Regions from separate parts of the Homo sapiens genome. Here all the other regions are linked to region 3. Evidence: promoter capture Hi-C in human tissues and cell types (Jung and others, 2019). All regions are on one chromosome and are shown on one strand. The core of a region is centred on a gene start or on the middle of the fragment in contact, and the rest is flanking DNA. Distances in the headings are between cores, read along the strand shown. Region 1 overlaps DNAJC5 (DnaJ heat shock protein family (Hsp40) member C5). Region 2 overlaps DNAJC5 (DnaJ heat shock protein family (Hsp40) member C5). Region 3 holds the start of ARFRP1 (ARF related protein 1).

Region 1 (2,720 bases), core at 173-2,672, 210 kb after region 3:
CTGTGTCATGCCCGTTTGCTGACCCAGCCCCTGCTGTGTCTTCCCCATCCCAGTGTGACTGTCGCTCTTGGTAGTTCCTCCGTGTTTCCTTTGTTTCCTTAGGTGACTTGTCTTTGCCCCACTCCCTGCAGTCCGCAGCACCTGTTGTCTCCTTCCCTCTCCTCCCGCTTCTCCTCAGACGTCATCTGTTCTTTCTAGAGTTGTTCCCCTTGCCCCAGGGTCCAGGGTTCCTAACAGCCTGTTTTTTTTCTTTCTTTTTTTTTTTTTAGTGAGACAGAGTCTCGCTCTGTTGCCCAGGCTGGAGTGCAGTGGTGCGGTCTCAGCTCACTGCAGCCTCTGCCTCCTGGGTTCAAGTGATTCTCCCGCCTCAGTCTTCTGAGTAGCTGGGACTATAGGCGTGCACTACCATACCTGGCTGATTTTTGTATTTTTATTTTTTATTTATTGTTGAGACAGGGTCTCTTTGTTGCCCAAGCTGGAGTGCAGTGGTGCCATCTTGGCTCACTGCAACCTCCACCTCCTGGGTTCAAGTGATTCTCCTGCCTCAGCCTCCCAAGTAGCTTACAGTAGGGATTGCGGGCACCTACGACCACGCCCAGCTAATTTTGTATTTTTAGTACAGATAGGGTTTCACCATGTTGACCACCTGGTCTCAAACTCCTGACCTCAGGGGATCCGCCCACCTTGGCCTCCCAAAGTGCTGGGATTGCAGGCGTGAGCCACCGCGCCAGGCCCTAACAGCCACCTTCTTAGCATCTGTATATTCAGACCGTCCATTGCAGGATGTGTGATCTTTGTGGCCTGGAATGTCTCTCTCTGAGCACTCCATCCTCCCACCCCTCAGGCAGTGTCTCTTGAGGCCACCTGCCCAGCCACCATCTTGGGGGGACCACAGGAGGCTGGGGAGAGAGCGAGGCAGTAGTGAGAAGCCGGGACGCTCACCGTTGGCCGAGTACCTTAGAGCAGCCCTGACGCCTGCTTCTGTCTCTTGGTGAAAGTGGCGCCCAGACTTCAGTCCTTACAGCCCAGAACTCAGAACCGTGGAGGTGCTGTGACCCACAGGGTTTACCTTGTAATTGTTGTTAAAACCCTTCTGGGCTTCATAATGGAATGCTTATGTTGAAATATTATTTTAAGTACTATTATCTATGATGTGGTTAGAAATGCCAAAGAATTTTTAGCTTTTTTGAGACGGAGTCTTGCTCTGTTGCCCAGGCTGGAGTGTAGTGGCGCGATCTCCGCTCACTGCAAGCTCCCCCTCCTGGGTTCACGCGATTCTCCCGCCTCAGTCTTCCGAGTCGCTGGGACTACAGGCGCCTACCACCATACCTGGCTAATTTTTTTTGGTATTTTTTGTAGAGACGGGGTTTCACGACGTTACCCAGGATGGTCTCGATCTCCTGACCTCGTGATCCACCCGCCTCGGCCTCCCAAAGTGCTGGGATTACAGGCATGAACCACCGTGCCCGGCCTTTTTTTTTTTTTTTGGTAGATGGAGTCTCGCTCTGTCGCCCAGGCTGGAGTGTGGTGGCGTGATCTTGGCTCACTGCAGCCTCCACCTCCCTAGTTCAAACGATTCTTCTGCTTCAGCCTGCTGAGTAGCTGGGATTACAGGCACCTGCCACCACGCCCTGCTAATTTCTGTATTTTTAGCAGAGATGGGGTTTCACTGTGTTGCCCAGGCTGGTCTCAAACTCCTGACCTCAGGTGATCTGCCCTCCTCGGCCTACCAAAATGTTGGGATTACAGGTGTGAACCACCACGCCCGGCCAGAGTGTGTAGCTTTTGTAAAAGTTTTGGAAATGGCCTCAGATAATTTCAGAGGTTTTTAAATAAAGAACGCTCAAAATGGAGCAAAATGGAGAGCCCCTGATAGGCCTCCTGCGTGGAGGTTTGCAGTAAGCCAGAGGCACCTGTGGGTCCCAGGGAGAGACGGGCTGCTCCATGGATGCTCCTGGGACCTGGGGCACTGGGTGGGCCTCAGGCAGATAGGAGCTGGTCCGTATCTCTTGCCAAGCCCAGGCCAACTCCTGATGAAGCAGATTCCTGTGGGTGACAAGTGTCAGAAGATAGAATAGGACCTTAGGGTCAGGAAGGATTTCTTGAACAAAAAAGGGGAAAAACAGATTGAGAGATTCAGAAAGCTGTAATATATTCTGTGACCTCAAAGGTGACTTGGAGGAGGGCTGTTGTTCAGCGACGGGCGTGTAGTGAACACTGGGGCATTTAAACGGTTCAGATGCTGAATTTAATGTTATATGTTTTTTACTACAATTGGTAAAAAAAAAAAAAAAAGCTTGTGCTCATCAAAAGACACACCATAATAAGTAAAAAAAGAACTGTGAACTGGAAGATACTTGTAACATTTTTAACCAGTGAAGGGTCGGTGTCCTGGATATGTCCACTGGGCACCACAGACAGAACGGCCTTGAAGGTAGGCTGGAGACGCCTACCCTTATCAGGCCAGGCAAGCACTGGGGAGCCTGGCCGTACCAGTCATTGTTGAGGCTGCAGGAATGGCAGGGAGCCCTAAGTTCCAGTGGCCACTGGTGCAGTCCTCAGAGAGCAGTTGGCACACCGCCTCAGGCTGAGCCTGCCCATTCTTGGGCACCCAGAAGTTCCACTCTTAGGTATACACCAGAAGAATTCTTCCTCGACTGTTTGTGCTGAAGGACAAGGTTTAAGTTTTTAAAATTTCCAGTGTCACAGACTGATGATAT
Region 2 (2,700 bases), core at 188-2,687, 230 kb after region 3:
TGAGGGCTCAGAGCTGCCCGCACTCCGTAGCTCATGGGATGTGCTGGGCCTGCCTTTGGCGCCATGCTGCAGACTCCAGTGGGCCTGGTTTCTGCAGAATGTCCATGGTGGCCGCTGCAGAGTTGCAGAGGTCCCTGTAGAGATAAAGCTGAGGAGGAGGCTGTGTGTGATGGCTCTGGCTCGGACCAACCAGATGAGCCTCCTGAAGCCCCCTTCCCTGCCTGCCTGCTGACCCGTGGCCCCAGCTCACTCATTGCCCTCAGCAGCCACCCGAGGCTGTGCAGAAGGGTAGGTTCAGGTTGACCAGGAAGCTGCCAAAAGGGACATGGATATGAGGATACATCTGGACGTGCTTAGGAACAGGGTGCTGGTTGAGGGCCCCCAGCTGACCCCTACTGCAGATCCGCATGTGGACCATGAGCCGGCTGCCAGCACTAGGTCCTGGGCAGCTTTGTTTGTCCCACTTTTCTTTGTTTCTTCTCACTAAAATGATCACGAAGACCTTTGACAAGAGGAGAGATATGCACTGTGATATTAAATTAGAAATAATTTATCAAAATCAGACCTCTCCTAAAAGAATAAGAAATTCATTGTTTGGCCCATCCTGAAAGGTGAGGTGGCGAGACAGTGGGGTGCCTCCGTGCCGCTTCGTGCAGCAGCAAGTTCAGCCTGAGATGCTGGCTGTACTCAGCCTTTGCAATTTTTGTAGATGTAGCTTAGGACGTGAGTTATTTTTCCGCAGACTGGCCAAGAGCCAGGTTCTAAGCTTGGACCTAAGGTAGAAAGCTGCCCATCGGGGGCCCTAGCTCAGCCCCACCAGGCCCTCTGTTGGGCCTGCACACAGCTCTGTGGCTAGAACACTCCAAGGCCCTTCGGTACCCATCAGAGTGGGCCCCTTGCCAGGTGGCTTTTCAGTTACAGAGTCCAGTGGACCATTTTGTAGAACCATGCAGCTCCCTGCGGAAGGTGGGGTAGGGTGGGAAAGAGGAGCAGGTCTGGAGGTTTGTGGAACCCAGTCCCCTGCAGAATCTGTAAAACCTAATAAATCATGGTTGTGGCCATTCTCACGGTGGTGATTGTGATTAGACGACCCCCGGGAAGCCCAGACACTCGGGGCCTGGAGTTCCTCCCCCTGCCTGACCTAGAAGCAGAACCGTTTTCAGCGCTCTGCCCTGTTGGCTTTAAGGCTTTGTCTTAATTTAAGGAAAAAGATCCTCCCGGGTTTTATTTCTCTCTTTCTTGAGTGGACTGTTTCCCTATAATTAAAAGAGGTGGTGAGTCCTGGGGCAGCTTCCGCGCCTCCCTGTCCACGTGCTAACAGATCAGGACGCCCCCAGCACCCCTGCCTGCTTTTGCTGGTGGCAGTGACGGGACCCCGACTCCTCACTCTCGGGCCGCAGACAATGCTGTGAGCAAGTGTGGCCATGGGCACAGAATGTCCCTTTGGACGCCGCTGCTGGGGGCTGCCAGGGGCCCTCTGGGGTCGTGCTTTGAGGCCCGTCCGGTTCACGAGGGGGTCCGGGCAGCACTGACTGCTTCCGACCTGCAGGAGGCGTAGGAGCGGCCCTGCGGGCCCTTTCACGGCAGCTGCTGCTGTATAGATTTGTCTCCACTCAGTGACGTGGGATTTTTTTGTCTTCCTTTTGGCTTTATTTTTAAACTGCTTTAGATATTACTGCTCAGTGTTTGTGAACTTTCCTAGTTCTCTATGTTGTTAGTGCAGCCAGCACCCAGTGGGGACCTACTAGAAAAAGGAACTGGCATGCACACGTGCCCAGCAGGAAAAGCTTCGTCTTCACGTCGGCTGCTGCCATCCAGAAGAGGCCCTGGAGCCTCACGCCGTCGAGGCTGCTCTCAGGCGTTCTGTTCCGGGCGAGGCTTGTGCTGCAAGGAAGGGCACCAGCATGCAGGCTGCCACTGGAGGGTCCGGGTGCTGCGGGCAGAGTTCAGCGCTTGTCCACCCTCCCTTAGCTCTGACTCAGTGCATCCTACTGTGGGGACATCTCGTGAGGGGACACGAAATGACTGATCTCACCCTTTCCCAGTATTCAGAGCTGTGAACCCCTGTGGCGCAGGACTGGCCTGTGTCTGTTATTTTGGTTGTAAATCATTCTCCTGTGGAATTGGCAAAAGCTACATTTTTACTGTCCTTACCAGCAACAGTTTGCGTCGTCACATGCTGTGAGTGTGGGCTGTGGTGTGTCCGTGTGTGTACATATGTGTATATGTATATATCACGCAGCAGGAGTGTCATTCATGCTGCTGTCCCCTGGTGAAGTGACAAGTACAATTAAAGGTGGCTCTGAAATGGCCTCTGGTTTCTTGGGAGTCGGGCAGGGACCTGCAGGAGGCTTTCCCAGCAGGTGCACAGAAGGAAGCGCTGAGCCCACTGTGTGCAGAGGGTGTGTGCCCAGGGCACTGCCACGGCCCCCACCAGCATTGGCCTCTGCTCTGCAGGGTGGGGTGCCCATCCTGGGGGCTGTGTGTCATGCTCACCTGACCCAGGTGTGTGTCCCGGTGTGAAATCGAGGAGGGGACTGGAAGCCCTTCCCTGCCTTGAAACATGAAAGCTGATTTTCTGAGCAGCAGATACGGTCAGTGGCAAAGCTGCATCTGAAGGGCGGCCTGGGAAGGGGCCCTGTGCTGGCCCCGGGTCCGCCCCAGAGGAGTCCACACAGCACCACCTCCAGAAGGGGCTGG
Region 3 (2,700 bases), core at 21-2,520:
GTTAAATCGGGTTTTCGACTGCTCCAGGAAGGTCTGAGGAGAGAGGCAGAGGCGAAACACATCAAGGAGGGGCTATACTGGCTTCCAAATATCCTTACTCAGGTCTGTTCTTTAAAAGACAGAAACAGAAACAGAGCAACACTCTGCTCTTCAGGAGGCTGGTGGTGACTATCCTGCCGTCTCAGGTGAAATTTGGCTTCCGTCTGGGTAGTGAACGTGCAGCTGACAGCACAAAACCGAAGGGGGCGCCGCCAGGCCGTGGGAAAGGTGCGCGCAAGGGCGTGGGCACTCACCGTCTTCCCAGCATTGTCCAGGCCCAGGATCAGGATGCAGTACTCGTCCTTCTGAAACATGTACTTGTACAAGCCCGACAGCAGCGTGTACATCCTGCCCTGGGCACCCCAACATAGGTCAGTGTGCAGCCAGAAAGCACCTCCCCTCCCCCGGGCTTCTCCACGGTGGTCAGTGGCGCCCCACGTCCAGCCGACCGCTCAGGACGAGAGCCTGGGGGCCATTCCCGACTCCTCGTCCCTCTCCCACCCCGTCCCTCTGTAACTTCTCCCAGGTCAGCCGCCACTGTGTCCTGCTCACAGCAATGACTGCGACCTCTCCGCATACACATCGGTTCCGGCCCCTCCCCTGCTCGCGGGACTACCCAGCCGGGTGTTCACAGTGAGCTCAGCCGCGCTCCCGCCCTCCCCCGAGGCTTCGCTCCCACGCTTCACGCGCGCGGAACGGGGAACACACTCGCTGCAGCCCCGCCTGGGCCACGGCACCCTCGAGCGCCAGCCCCGCGCCCCACCCGGGAGCAGCGAGCCACCGGCGCGCTCCCCAGGAGCCCCTGCAGGCGCCGGGTAGGGACGCCCCATCACCCCATTTCTTAAAACGGGGACGGCCCTGGGGGGAGCGGACTACAGGGCGGGTGAGCAGCGGCGCGGCTGCTCCTGGAGTGCACCTGGAGGCGGCGCGCGGCTGGCAGGGAACGACTGCGAAGGAAGAACCTGGGTCGCGGCCCCCGGCTACGTCCGCCCCAAGCCGCCGCCGCCAGGTCTGAGGCTCCCCGACAAGCAGCCAAAGCTGGCTCCTGTCACACCCGCGTCCCACCTCGAGTCCTGGGCCGCCCCTCGGGCCTCGCGCCTCACCGCACAGCCTGCGGCCTACCTGCGTCCGCCGCGCCCTCGGAGCCGCTGCTGCTGACCCCCGCTGACCTCCGCTGACCCCGCGCTAACCCCGCGCGGCGCCTGACGGGACGCGGGCCGGCCTCAGGGAATGAGCTGAACCGCGTCCCAGCGGCCTCCGCGCTCCGCTTCCCGGCTGCCCCCGCGCGCCAAGCACTTCCGGAAGCGGCGGCGCTCGGGAGGAAGTGCCGATCGGCTGCTGGGGCGAAAAGGGGGCGCCGGGCCGCTCTAGCCGGTGAGGCCGGCGGGCTCTCTGTGGCTGCGGCTGGGAAACCGCGCGGAGGAGGTGCCCGGCCGGGGACCAGGTGGCCGCGGTTTGCGGGGACGCGGCCCTGGCCAGACAGAAGAGACGCCGGGCGGGGGGGCGCGGCCGGCCTGGAAGGCGGCGGGCGCGGCGGGTGGGCTCGGCGGAGGGTGAGGCGGCGGGGCGCCCCGCGGGGAAGGGGCTCCGGAGTGACGCGGGACCCGGCTAGCGGCGAGCCCACGGCGGCTCGGAAGGGAAGCGCGGAGCCTGAGCGGGGGTACCCGGGCTGCGACCTCTGCGCTGGGAGCTGTGCCTCTGAGCCGGTGTCTCCCCGAGGGAAAGGGGACGTGCCCGTGCCCGTGCCCGCCCTCAGGCTGTGGGGTCGGTCCCGAGACGCGGGGCTCAGCTGGCTTCTCTTCTTGCAGCCCTGGTCCAGCGCCTCCCTCTCTCAGCATGGACGAGGAGAGCCTGGAGTCGGCCTTGCAGACCTACCGTGCGCAGCTGCAGCAGGTGGAGCTGGCCTTGGGCGCCGGCCTGGATTCGTCTGAGCAGGCTGACCTGCGCCAGCTGCAGGGGGACCTGAAGGAGCTCATCGAGCTCACCGAGGCCAGCCTGGTGTCTGTCAGGAAGAGCAGCTTGTTGGCCGCGCTGGACGAAGAGCGCCCGGGCCGCCAGGAAGATGCTGAGTACCAGGCTTTCCGGGAGGCCATCACTGAGGCGGTGGAGGCACCAGCAGCGGCCCGTGGGTCCGGATCAGAGACCGTTCCTAAAGCAGAGGCGGGGCCAGAATCTGCGGCAGGTGGGCAGGAGGAGGAAGAGGGAGAGGACGAGGAAGAGCTGAGTGGGACAAAGGTGAGCGCGCCCTACTACAGCTCCTGGGGCACTCTGGAGTATCACAACGCCATGGTGGTGGGAACGGAAGAGGCGGAGGATGGCTCGGCGGGTGTCCGTGTGCTTTACCTGTACCCCACTCACAAGTCTCTGAAGCCGTGCCCGTTCTTCCTGGAGGGAAAGTGCCGCTTTAAGGAGAACTGCAGGTAAAGCCCTTTGTTGTCAGATGCCAACCTTAGGGGCGTAAGGGGCACGCACACAGGGTCGGGTCAGGATCGGCCCTCCCTTTGCTTTGCAGTTTTGTCTCAGCTTCCTGGGGCAGGCGTGCTTTGACAGCTGTGTCTGTGTTCAGGCGTCTACGTCTTCCTTCTGGGGTGAATCAAGAAGCATGGAAGGAGGCCAGGCGCGGTGGCTCACGCCTGTAATCCCAGCACTTTAGGAAGCCGA

Evidence for each region. Contacts are between HindIII fragments. The study calls those that stand out against the background at their distance.
Region 1: a fragment that was not itself captured here is called in contact with the fragment with the promoter of ARFRP1 in region 3 in 2 of the 25 tissues and cell types used here (IMR-90 fibroblasts and heart right ventricle).
Region 2: a fragment that was not itself captured here is called in contact with the fragment with the promoter of ARFRP1 in region 3 in 1 of the 25 tissues and cell types used here (dorsolateral prefrontal cortex).

Annotation. Positions count from the first base shown.
Region 1 is chr20:63,913,145-63,915,864 of GRCh38, forward strand. The region is part of intron 1 of DNAJC5 (DnaJ heat shock protein family (Hsp40) member C5); the gene reads left to right. Among named protein-coding and RNA genes, the nearest start is that of MIR941-1, 4.9 kb to the right of the region's middle. The HindIII fragment of the contact is 7,543 bases long and covers 1-2,720 here.
Region 2 is chr20:63,932,982-63,935,681 of GRCh38, forward strand. DNAJC5 (DnaJ heat shock protein family (Hsp40) member C5) reads left to right here. Exons shown (of 5, transcript NM_025219.3): 5 at 1-2,700. Among named protein-coding and RNA genes, the nearest start is that of MIR1914, 7.2 kb to the right of the region's middle. The HindIII fragment of the contact is 5,774 bases long and covers 1-2,700 here.
Region 3 is chr20:63,706,706-63,709,405 of GRCh38, forward strand. It overlaps ARFRP1 (ARF related protein 1), which reads right to left and starts at 1,271. Exons shown (of 8, transcript NM_001267547.3): 1 at 1,162-1,271; 2 at 294-392; 3 at 1-33. The coding sequence starts at 386. It overlaps ZGPAT (zinc finger CCCH-type and G-patch domain containing), which reads left to right and starts at 1,334. Exons shown (of 7, transcript NM_181485.3): 1 at 1,334-1,413; 2 at 1,848-2,459. The coding sequence starts at 1,876. RefSeq lists enhancers at 337-396, 1,259-2,219 and silencers at 547-596, 687-926, 1,347-1,406, 1,447-1,606. The HindIII fragment of the contact is 11,218 bases long and covers 722-2,700 here.